Regions from separate parts of the Homo sapiens genome. Here region 2 is linked to region 1. The links are contacts of gene promoters, found by promoter capture Hi-C in blood cells and fetal thymus (Javierre and others, 2016). All regions are on one chromosome and are shown on one strand. The core of a region is centred on a gene start or on the middle of the fragment in contact, and the rest is flanking DNA. Distances in the headings are between cores, read along the strand shown. Region 1 holds the start of SLC7A11 (solute carrier family 7 member 11). Region 2 has its middle 5.1 kb from the start of SETD7.

Evidence for each region. The method cuts DNA at HindIII sites, captures the fragments that hold promoters and counts their contacts. A CHiCAGO score of 5 or more calls a contact.
Region 2: a contact is called between a fragment that was not itself captured here and the fragment with the promoter of SLC7A11 in region 1, in 1 of 17 cell types (monocytes). The highest score is 7.4, in monocytes.

The regions. Positions count from the first base shown.
Region 1 is chr4:138,238,179-138,244,640 of GRCh38, reverse strand. SLC7A11 (solute carrier family 7 member 11) reads left to right here and starts at 2,292. Exons shown (of 12, transcript NM_014331.4): 1 at 2,292-2,848. The coding sequence starts at 2,572. RefSeq lists enhancers at 2,038-2,277, 1,747-2,946. The HindIII fragment of the contact is 788 bases long and covers 2,112-2,899 here.
Region 2 is chr4:139,558,098-139,564,559 of GRCh38, reverse strand. No RefSeq gene overlaps it. Among named protein-coding and RNA genes, the nearest start is that of SETD7, 5.1 kb to the right of the region's middle. The HindIII fragment of the contact is 1,271 bases long and covers 2,366-3,636 here.

The DNA of each region.
Region 1 (6,462 bases), core at 1,043-3,542:
GTAAATAAGTATTTGCGAATAGCACTAGGATAGTCTCATAATTTGACAGCTATACTTAAAATAAGGCCTAATACAGGATGAAAAATATGTATTCATTTGCTTTGAACACATTTTTATGATACACAAGTATTTGAGGACCATCCAAACTCTTAGTTTACAAGCTTAGAACTGGCAATTTTAAGAGTTCAAGGCAATTCAACATTTTCTTTATAAACTGCATTTTCTACAGATTTTGGGGTGCTTAGAAGAGGTACACTGGTGCCCTTAGCAGCAATGTGCAGCTTTGCAAACATTCTGAGTGGTGGCCTCTATCTTACATGAAAGTACAATCCTTTTGGTTTTTAGTCTAACATCAGCCATTTTTCTTCATAATTAAAAAAAAAATACTGTGAGGAGGAAAATGTTATTTAATATTGAAAGAATAATCGTCCTTTATAATTCATTCAGTTTCCTATCTGAGTGGGGTCTTTGGCTCAACTTATGAGTTCAGTTATTTATAACAAAATTTAAAATTAAAGTGTGACACTGTGTTAATTAGAGAAAGTTGCTGTTCCCTGAGATTCCTAGTGTCCTACTTTTACCTCATATTTCTTCAGAGCTAATATGTTTCTCTTACTGGGAAAGAAGAGCTGCTCCTTAGGTCCATTAATCAGGAAAATTGTGTGAGTGAAAGGAGATGTAGGAGGAGGAAGAGAATTGGAAAGAAAAGAATCTCTATTTAGCTTCCTTCTTTGGGAGTTTTAGCAGGATTGCATGAGGAAAATGATCCATTTTTGTTTTTTGAAAGACATTAACAACTGAGAAAAAGTATTTATTTTGGTTTTATAAAAACTTTAACTTGGTGTAGCTGAAACCAATTATATAGAATTTAGATAGATAATTTAAAAAGGAGAAAATGTAGCCTCAATTATTTGGATGGCAAAGCATTGAGGTGGTGTCATTTTCTCAGGTGTCAACATAACAGAAAATGGTTCTGACCTTTTCCATGCTACTTTCCTAATGGCGATTTCTCATTTCTTTCTTTGATCATCCTCACCATACTTGACTCCCTTCTTTCCCTGCCAACCTCTCGCACACAGGCTTTTTGTTTGTGGTTTTTGTTCAAAGGTTCAGAAGCTTATTTAATGGTGCGTATAAAGGTAGCTTCAGGGTAATGATAACATTCAATTCTTCTCACTGAATCCAAAACCACATGTAACTATAGCCAAAAATGATATCTAGGATTTCTTTTCTTTTCATATTTGTTTTTTCTTGACACTTGGTTGAGAAAGTTAGAAGGGTTTAAAAATGTTTTGCCTTTTTGACTATTGCAAAGTAAATATTTTAATTTAGCTTACATTTTTAATGCATTTTAAATTTATAATAATAACAATAGTTTATATAATGTGGAAAAAAGTCATACATAATATCATTACTTTCTATAACTACCATTCTGTTTTCCTTTACAGGCTTTTGCTATATACATATTTTTATGTAATTGTAATTGTGTAATTTTGAACTTAGAAATTTTTTTTGGTAATTCAAAGGAACAACATGACAATGAAGGATATGTATCTTTTACATAGTTCAAAAAAATCACCTAGTGCTAATGAGAATCAGAAAATGACTATTTTCTGGAGTCATGGTGAATTTTGTATTAGTCACACTCGGATGGTGATTTAAAATACTGGTTTATTATGAGTAGTAAGAAATAATTTTATCTTTTAATGTTGAGGAAGGCTTATAGTTGTGTGTATGTGACAGAAGTATAAAGTGTAGAATCTTTAATTTTGTAAATATTGGATTTGACTGTATTGCCTTATAAAAAACTCAAAATAAAAAAATAAAAAGCATTACACAAATTATGAAATTCAAACTGTGTTGTTATAAACAATGTAGCTTTAGGATACATTCTACTCACAAAACAGTCGCATGTAAAATGTTTTTATACACGCATTAAAGAAAAAGAAACTCCTTAAAATGAAGTAACTATTTCCTGTTTCATTTTGTTTGAACAGCTTTTGTTGCTCACTACGAGTTGCTTTAAATCTCTGGGAAGGTCTGTTCCGAATTTACTACTTCTGGATTGGCTAAAATCTCTTTAAAGTGTGTGCTTTGTTCTCTAAAAAGCTTAGGTCAGTTGAGCAACAAGCTCCTCCTGTTTTTTTCTTTTTTTAAAAAAAAGAGCTGAGTAATGCTGGAGGCTTCTCATGTGGCTGATGCAAACCTGGAGAATTTGCATCATCATTTAGCTGTAGTAAGTTGGTGTGACAGGCAGGCGCTTAAATACAAGCCCATGAGGAAGCTGAGCTGGTTTGTAATGATAGGGCGGCAGCAGCAGCAGCAGCAGCAGTGGTGGAACGAGGAGGTGGAGAATTGAGAGCACGATGCATACACAGGTGTTTCTGAGTAGTAATTAGATCGCTGTGAAGGAAAAAGCACACCTTTGAGTTTTCACCTGTGAACACTATAGCGCTGAGAGAGACAGTCTGAAAGCAGAGGAAGACATCGATCAGTAACACCAAGAGACACCAAAGTTGAAAGTTTTGTTTTCTTTCCCTCTGTTTTATTTTTCCCCCGTGTGTCCCTACTATGGTCAGAAAGCCTGTTGTGTCCACCATCTCCAAAGGAGGTTACCTGCAGGGAAATGTTAACGGGAGGCTGCCTTCCCTGGGCAACAAGGAGCCACCTGGGCAGGAGAAAGTGCAGCTGAAGAGGAAAGTCACTTTACTGAGGGGAGTCTCCATTATCATTGGCACCATCATTGGAGCAGGAATCTTCATCTCTCCTAAGGGCGTGCTCCAGAACACGGGCAGCGTGGGCATGTCTCTGACCATCTGGACGGTGTGTGGGGTCCTGTCACTATTTGGTGAGTGCGACTTTTTCTCTCGTGGGGGCGTGGCTGTGGGGCTGGAAAGCTTGCTTTCTGGGAAAGCAAATGGTAGTTTTTGAGGAGTGAATGGATGGCAAAGGCCACACCAAATTTTTAAAATTTTTGTTCGGGTACGTGAACTACCCAGATGCAGCATCCGCTGTTGGTGTGATCTGGAACACCCTCAAATTGCTTCCTACAGGCTGTACTTTCTTTTCCTGACTAAGACAGGCTATCTTCTGACTTTTCTCTGTGGTGATGAGAGCAAAGGCTAACTTTCATGACCCAGTAAAAAACATGCACACTTTCTGTGCCGGGCAGTTGTACACTTAGCTTGGGCATTCTGGCAGCTGGCATGCTGAATGAGACACCTGTGAAGTGGAACCTGGCATGGGCTATTTAGACATAGAACGGAGTGTTCAGCAGAAGTCTTACTGACTTTTTATTAGCCAAACAAATGGGTGGCAGTCTTTATAAAAATATTTTTTAAGTTCATGTGCTTGTCACCTCTTAATATCCTTTCAAAAGTCCTTGACATGGGAGAGATGTATGATGGCGCATAACTCAATCCCTATCATAATGGGGTATATTGCAATGGCCTGAGCATATTTCAAATTACTTTTCAACCTTTCATCTCTTCTCAATACCCATACACTTTTGCAATATAAGTTTTAAAACTTCAGTTGGGCGTTAGTTTTCTGTACTTGCCCAGATCTGTTTTTTTCATTATATTTCACTTGTTCTCCAGGGACACAGAGAATTTGTCCACCTGTTCACTAAATTAATCTGAAGGGAACTGGCAGAAGTATAATTATGAATTTTTCTTCAAAGTTTATGTCTCTTCTATTGATCTGAGAATTAATAGTAAAGAGGTAAATAAATGCCCCCTTATGGAGTAGGCAAATTACTAGAGAGCTACCTGAGTTTGTTGTAAAGATGATAAAAACTGGTGAACTGTCAAACATTAAATTTGATTTATGCTATGAGGATTTATTTACTCTTCTTGGGAAAGATTCTGTACTTTAAAGTTGCTCTTTGTCTTAACTCTGGGACTAACACTAACTAACAAGTACTAACGCTAACTCTAGGACTAATTAACAAGTACTAACTCCTGTTCCCATGTGTACCAATCAATTCATTCTTTCTACTCAGGCCTTGTGATGTTTTAAATCATTGGTTTGACACTCATCTAGAGAACTCAAATTCCATTTTTTTTTTTTTTTTGAGACAGAGACTCGCTCTTTGCCCAGGCTGGAGTGCAGTGGTGTGATCTCGGCTCACTGCAACCTCCGCCTCCCAAGTTCAAGCAATTCTCCTGCCTAAGCCTCCCGAGTAGCTGGGACTACAGGTGTGTGCCACCACGTTGGGCTTATTTTTCGTATTTTTTAGTAGAGATGGGGTTTCACCATGTTAGCCAGGATGGTCTCGATCTCCTGACCTCGTGATCCACCCACCTCAGTCTCCCAAAGTGCTGGGATTACAGATATGAGCCACCGCGCCCGGTCCTCAAATTCCATTTTTAGGAAGAAGTTATTTTAAATAGAACTTGTTAAAACAAGTAGTATAGAAAGATTTATAGAGGAATTATTTGGGGTTTTTAGAGAGAGTTTGTGGTATTATTTATAACTAACTTGTGCTTTATTAAATATTCAGTAACAATTGTGTATCATTATTTCCCAGTATTACTTCCCATCTTTATAAAATAATTTGGAGTAATATCATTATGAAAAACTCTAATAGTACCCTTAGCCACTATTAATATTAAAATAGCTCTGGTATATGCACTTATAGAAAAAGAGAAACCTAATTGTTGATCATCTTAAATGATTTTGTGCACCCTCAGCCTTTAAATCTTCCTACAGCACTTTATATATTCAGAATAAATCAATATCTAATCAGAAAAACCACAACCAGTTTACTGGACTTTGCGTACTTATGTGCATGCAGCTTCCACTATGTGATTCAATTTTTGCACATAATAAAAGATTATTCAGATGTAATAAAATAGATCAGTATGAGTATTGAACTAGTTAAAGTGTGTTGACTTGCACTATGAAAATATGCTTATGCATAAGTATTACATATCATCTGAAGCAAAAGCTCAAAAAAAAATAAAAAGAGAGAAACAGCTAAGGAGACTAGCTAACATTACACTTGAGTTGGTATTCTTTGATTAGTAATTGCAGGGAGTGTGCTCTTGTATTAATCTACTTATCTTTATTTGCATTGCATTTGTCACTTAAGTTACCAGAAGCTTTTGGACAGGAGTGCCTCTGTAACAGCAAGCAAAGCAAAATCTGAAGAAAAAATAATCCTTCTTTTTAAAAAGACTCTAGAACTTTGGGACCAACTGTAAAGAATCTGTACATTTGGTTTAATACATATATATACTTTTTTTTTAAGTGAAGGGTCAATACATGGATTTTTACATCTTGTTTTGAACTTTTTTCATCTGGGCAAAATGGTTATGAAGCTTGAGACCTTTAAATGAAAATCATTCCCCCAGAACTCAGTTTAAACCTAGGGCAACCATCCTGGAGTTTCAGTAAAGCATATAGAGGTCTAGGTATTGATTCTCTGACAATAAATTCTGAGGTACTTAAGACTCTTCCCAATAACATTTTATATTGGATCCTTTTCTGGACAGCCTACCAACATGGCGAATGTTTCCCCATGGAGAGTGAGTTGCAACTAGTTAAAATTAGTTATAGGTAGATGAAATACATCAGTGTTCCCCAAATATTAGTCTGCAGACTCGTTACTTTAGAATTATTTGTACAAATTTTAAAATGATAGAGATTCTTGAATTTCTCTTGTGGACAATCTATACTCTCTTGATTAGAGTCTGTTTTTGGTTTGAGTGTTTTCGAATTAAAAATTATTCCCAGACTGAGCATGGTGGCTCATGCCTATAATCTCAGCACATTGGGAGGCTGAGGCAGACAGACCCCTTGAGCCCAGGAGTTCCAGACCAGCCTGGGCAACATGGCAAAACCCTGCCTCTACAAAAAATACACAAAAATTTAGCTGGGCATGGTGGTGTGTACCTGTGGTCCCAGCTACTTGGGAGGCTGACGTGGAAGGATCACTTGAGCTCAGGAGGCAGAGGCTGCAGTGAGGCAAGATTGTGCCACTGCACTCCAGCCTAGGTGCCAGAGTGATACCCTATCTCAAAAATTAAAAAAAAAAAAAAATTATTCCTAGGTGACTTTGATGTCATGATAAGTTTAGAAATCAGATATAAAATATGTAACACTAAGATTTCACTGAATATCCAAATTATATTTATATTGAGCAGTTCTGTCTAAATTATTACTAATCAGTAGTACTTTTCTACACTTTTATTCTCAGAAGTAGATTGGAAAAAAATTGTGTTCTTACATTTGAGCACTTGGCAGTACAGATAGAACTTTTCACATAATGACAGGATTTTTTTAAATTTTCTTGTTAATTACTCAAATTAATAAGTATAGCTATATTTCATGTGGTGCTTGCCATGTGTCAGGCCATGTACTGTACTAGGTACCCGCTGCCACATTTATACACACAACTCCTTTATGAGGTAGAAGCTGAGATCTCCATTTCACAGAGAGTGAAACTGAGGTTTTGGG
Region 2 (6,462 bases), core at 1,752-4,251, 1.3 Mb before region 1:
CTCATGAATGGTTTAGCACCATCATTCTGGTGCTGTCCTCATGATAGTGAGTGAGTTTTCAAGAGATGTGGTCGTTTAAGTGTGTAGCACCTTCTGCCTCTCTCTCTTGCTCCTGCTCTGTCCATGTGACTGCCTGCTCCCCCTTCACCTTCTGCCATGATTGTAAGTTTGCTGAGGCCTCCCCAGAAGCTGAGCAGATGCCATCATTCTTACTGTGTAGCCTGCAGAGCCATGATCCAATTAAATCTCTTTTCTTTCTAAATTACCTGGTCTCAGGTATTTCTTTACAGCAATGTGAGAACAGATTAACACACTCCATAAGTCCATCTTGTATGGCACCATAAAACTGATGTAGAGCTTCTTTAAGAACTTTTCCTTTACTCAATAATCTAGAATTATTTCTCCAAAACTGTCCTGTTACTTCCATTTCCTCTATCTGTGCCTTTTCATGGTTTGCACAGCTGTGGTTCCAATCCCACTCTCACTACTTATGTGACTCCAGACAAGTTATTTGAACTCACAGTCTCGGGTTTCCTCATCTATAAATGGAGATCATATTCTGTAAGGTCATTTTCAGGATGAAATGAAATGATGTGACTCAGTCTCCTGGGAAACAGCAGACTGTCTCTAAATGCCATCTCTTGTTGCTTCACCCCTGCCCTCCGATGCCCACCCTCTGAGGAGTCTTGTCACTCTGCATGAAGTGTGAAGTATGGCTGAAGACCCAATGGGCCTTGATTTGAGCCTCATTTGGCCACATTTCAGTTGTGGGATCCTGGGAGAGTCCTTAAACATCTCTGGTCTTGGGGATGAATTATTGTGTGGTGCAAATGAGCTCAGAGATGCCAAATTACATTCCATTCAGGATACATTCCATTCACGATAAACCTTTCCAAATACTTGAAAGGTATATGTCAGCAATAAAAATAGCCCCTTAGATGAAAATGAGCCTATAAACAAGATGACTCTGCTTGGATATAACCAATTCCACAATTCTCAATGCACATTTTCAGAAGGATTATTTTGAAATATTAAGGAAAGTTAGTTGCAGATACTCCAAATTCTATAGGATTGGCGAGAAGGGAGAGATCACTGACTTGCCCCTCTCTCTTATCTTGTCTACAACTGAGAATGAACCTGACCTGGTTCAAATCACAACCTTTGCCACACCATCTTGGGGGAGAGCACAGAACAGGGGACACAGGTGAGGTCGAGGTGCCAAGACTTTACAGCTGAGTAATAACCAGGCTCCCTGCTCTGCTGAAGAACTCACACTATCTCAGACTTAAGACATTCCCCAGATGCCAGGTTGGGAAGTGATGCTTATAACTTCAGAAGACCTACTCTCAACTGGCATTTTTCTCCAAGGAGACAGTACAAGGCCTACCACAGGGCTGCTTTCTTTTTGGTCCTCTATCTTGAGCACAGGAGCATTTGAGCAGGGCTCTTTAAATTTGTCTGAAAGACATTCCAAAAGTTGGCCACAGCATCTTTTCCCAAGAATTGATCTATGGACTCAGCAAGGAGGATCAATAAGACCTTAAATGACCTGAAAGGACACGCCAGATCCAAAGAGGCTGCAAGACAGGTCTCCAGCAAATACATACAGGAAGGGCTGGCTTAGCATCAAGCACCTCCGGGTGAGGGCTGCCTGTAGATCGAGGGTTGTCATTTCAGTGCCAGGTCCCAGAAACACTCTAATCAACCTGTCTTTGTTTGTGACTGAGTGAAGAGGACCACATGGGTATTTTCATTTCTGGATATTGGATTCAAAGCCAGACAGTCCCATTTGGAAAATGAAGAGGACACTTTGCCCTCCATCTATGTTATAGTAGATGGAATCTGCATCCTCAAGGTGGCGTTCCGTTGCCTAAGCTATCATAGCAAAGAGCCAACCTCTCCACTCCTGCACAGAATAGAAATATCTTTGAGCTGAGTGCCCAGGAAAACTTGGATGACTGTATCACAGGACAGGCCACGTGGGTCTTAATATGTCTCTGGTCTCTTTCTCAGAAATCATGGTAGCCTAAGAAGGTTGGCCCACTGTTGATGGCTTGTGAAGCAGAAATGAGGTGCTTTCCCAAGAACTTGAGAACCAGGTTGCTCTCAGAAAGTTTGACTACCAAAATCTGCACACTCAATGGTTTTGACTAGAATTCAGTGGGCATAAACCAAGAGAGTGACTCAATTTGTGACTGAGAAGTTTGAGGATTACCTCAAATTCCCATTAAAGTGACTTGGCTGTAATGCCAGGAAGATAGAGAATGTCATTATGACTTAGAAAGTGTAAATCTGCCTAATGGGCTGTATAGGACGCTGTGTGGAGAATCAGGTTTGGAGAAACTAGAGCACGGAGAAAGAAGCTTGAAGCCTCAGAAGCCATAGGGCCCATCTAAGCAGAGGTGAGTGGGATGGGTGGGCAGCCTCATTCTTTCAGAACACTGTATCAGAGTATTTGTCTTGTGGACCACACAACTAATGTCCTTCATTCTACTCCAGATAACTAAGCAAACTTTTGGATGGAATTTGTCTTCTCAAGTGCATTTATTTATATAGAGAGATCTTTTGCCCTGACAGTGTGAGTATTCTGATCTGTCCATCATAATTCAGGCATACATCTCAGTCTCTCGGGGTCTAGTTAATGTGAGTCCACTTGAGGAAGGTCAAGAGCTGACCCTTGATGAATGTTATGACATTTGTGGTAAATAGGTCAGCTGGAAATACTCCTCTGCCCATCCTGGATATTGTAGTGTCAAAAGAGTATACCATGTACCTGCCCTCTGCAATGTCTACTTTTGCAGAGGACCAATTGCAGGACTCAATAATCTTAATTTTAGCCTAGTAAAGTAATTTTTCAAAAACAATTAGAGAAAATAATATCTATGAAAACACATTTGGTTTTGGTGGCGGTTTGTCTTTATTTTTCAAGTTTCTGCAATCCTATTGTTTTTCTAAAGTAATTTCTAAAACAGATGCCCCTTTGAAAACTATTTCCAATTTTTCTTTGTGTGTGTGTGTGTGTGTGTGAGGGTTTTTTTTGTTGTTGTTTGTTTTTTTGAGATGGAGTCTCACTCCGTGGCCCAGGCTGGAGTGCAGTGCAGTGATGCCATCTCGGCTCATTGCAGCCTCCGCCTCCCAGGTTCAAGTGATTCTCCTTCCTCAGCCTCCCAAGTAGCTGGGACTACAGGCATGCACCACCAGTTTTTGTATTTTTGTAATTTTTGTATTTTTAGTAGAGACAGGGTTTCACCATGTTGGCCAGGCTGGTCATGAACTCCTGACCTCAGGTGATCCACCTGCCTCTGTCTCCCAAAGCGCTGGAATTACAGGCGTGACCCACCGTGCCTGGCCTCATTTTTTTTTTTTCAATCATTTCACTCAGCAGCTTCACTAGGCCCAAGCCTGACATAAGAGTTTTCATATCCCATAATGCAAAAAACCCCAAGAACTCTGTGAAGGAACAATATTGGCCCAGAGTCGACCCAAACAGGGAGATCTGGGCTGCATCTTCCCTCCCCTCCCCGCCCCAGAAAGTCTAAATTTAGTTTACTGGATACCCTGCAATGACATTAACATGTCATTGCAACATTAACATGTTGCAAAAACAAGAATCAAGCAAAAGAGAAAGAGGAAGCTTAATGTGGCATGAGGTATTTTAATACCATGGCAACTGTGGTGTCTTCTCTATTATTTAATTCACTTCCTTAGGTCAGGTTATTCTGCCCTCTCTCTCTTGCACTTCCTGTTGCTGTAATCAAATCAGGTCACCCTGAATCTGTAAGTCTTCTTCCTGACTGCACTCATGTCTATTTCCAGCAGAATGAATTTTCTCCATTTCTTTCTTTGCTCCCTGGACCTTTATTTGGTGCCCTTGATGTCCCTGCTCTTCCCAGTGCTCCACAAGCTGCAAACGCTTCCCTTTCATCCCCATCTCCTCCCCCACCCGTCTCCTCCTCGCTGCTCCTCTCCCAGCCCCTCCCTCCAGCTTCTGCAGTTGTCACTAACACAGTTAGCCACTTGATTAGTGACTCAGTGATTCAGAACCCAGGAACCTTGGTTCTCCTAAAACTTCCATGCTTCCCTCCCTAGAGTCAAGATAAAGGTTCTCCCCTCACCTGCCTGCCCAGATAGAGCCATTAACGTGAGAGGACTTGAGTATTCAGTTTGTTGGAGTTGCCCTGGCTTCTTCCCATTTCCTTTTTATGTGCCTTTTCCTGGGGCTTCTCAGGCTCTATTTACCTTTTCTCCAGAAAAGGTGGACAGAGAAGGTTTGAGCTTCGAATTTATGTAGCCCAACTCTTCATTTACAGATGGGAAAACGAAGGCCCCCCCCCCGGCCCCCGCAGAACTGAATTGCCCAGTTGCTTGGCTAGTTCTTGGTGGAACCAAAACAGACAAAGCAAAAACTCAATCAAACTGGCTAATTTGGTGGGAAAAAATCTTGTGAAGGAGTGAGCAGTGCCAAAACGAGACTTGATGATTATTTAAAAGGTCTTTCACTAATTTTATCCTTGTCATCCTGCTGGCGGTGTAAGCAAGTGATGGAAACCAGAGCCAGGCCAGCAACCATAAAGCCACCAGGGCTTCTGGAGAGGCTCTGATGCGACTTCCTACCGCTGAGGTCTCAGAGGCTCCTCCCTCCCAAATACATGGAGACCCAGAAGACTGCTTGGGCCCCTCCACTCCCTGCCAGCGGGCAGGATGAGGAGTCAGTAACAGCCAACAGTAGTGAATCCCACATAAGTTCCACATTCACTACTTGTTTCACAATTCGCTTAGCATGCATAGCAGCGAATTGACAGAATTGTTTCCCCTAAATGTAGGAAGGTGCATAAAATACAAGAAGCTTGTAAAAATATATTTATTGCAAAAGTTATATCAGTCTTGTATGTAAGCACCAGCCTTCTCCAGGGAAAGACAGGGGTGGTAGAATGAATAAAATTAACTCAGTATTTTGACTGCTTGCTGCAATGGAAGAGGGAATTATGTTTCCCAAGCTGGGTATGAAGAGAAGGAATATAGCCTTGGAGGCAATGGAAACTAAGCCAGAGCAGCTTAGAAAAGTCACCCCTCCTCCTGATTCAAGACCAAAGACAGGGAAAAAAAAGTCACTCTCAGTGTGAACATGAAAGCAAGTCTCACCCAGCCTAGATGTTGGATGTCCTGTGCGGTCCCGTTCCTCCCTGGTAGAGCTTGTTCTGTCTCACTGGGATCTGCCAAGTTAGGAGCTGAGCCACACTACTTCTGCTGCTGCTGTTGCTGCTGCACATTGTTTGTGATTAAGAGTTTTATTGATTTTCTAGCCCATGACCACATTGGTGGGGACAGAGTACGACAGGGGAAACTGGTGGAAAGCCAAGTAGAAAGAGAGTTTATGAAATCAGCTCTCAATGAAGAAAACTGTGGGAAAGAATGCGATGGAAGCAGATTTGGGGCCAGTCGATGTGGGAAAGTAGAACAACTCAAAAATGCTCTTCAGATTTGAACTGAAACAAAGCACTTTGCCAAAACATAGGAGGAGAATCCAGTCTGTGAGAAAGCCTCAGCACTGTTTATATAAAACAGAATATTCCTATCTGCAAAATCATTGCTGACAATGCTTAACCCACATTCTGTACCAGGCACTGTGTTGTGTTCTAGGACCATAAATAAGAATCAGTCCGTCTAGAGAAGGAGACTCGAAACATACACAACATGATTTGTAAAGATACAAGTGGATCTTAAGAGAGTCATAAAAACATTTTGCCCCAGCTTTGGGCCCAGAGCCAGCAGGAATGAATGGTGGGGGAAGAGGGATGGGACTGTGTCCCTGCTGCTGCCTGCCTCATGTGCAGATCTGGTGAAGGTTCTCTGTAGTTTGACCCCGCATCACTACTGACTTTGCTAGAAAGACCCTGCTCCCTTCCTGTCCCTGCCTCTTGTAGGTCCAGAGGACCCCTGCTTCACCGACGGCGGGGGCCGGGGTTGGGGGGTGCCGTAGGCAGGGTTTCAGGTGTTCTCAAGGTAGTAGGTAGAAAGGGAGCGCTTGACAGTTTGGGTGCTTAGTACAGGCTGGGAAAACCTCACAGCACCAAGGGGACAGTTGGACACTTGCAACATGATTCCTCCCCTCTCCTTCACTCCCACACGTACCCACCCACCATGAAACTGTGTCTTCTGTACGTCTTGAGAGATTTCTTCCAGCCTCCCAGCCCTGCCTCACTGCCTTTGAGTAAGAGAATAAAGTCTTTTTGCTGCTTCCTTCAGCTTTCAGCATTGTTTTTCACCCTGAAAATCAACTGGAAACTGGGGAAGACGAGTATCTGGTATGTTTTAGTGCACCAGTATAATATGCAAGGGAGGGGGTGATATGTAAAAAGGTTAAATGAGAAAAAATATCATATAATTCAAAACCAGTGAGTGACCGAGCTCAGTAAATGATGGCTTTTTAAAAATCAGATATAAAATCCTGTTTCTGTGGTT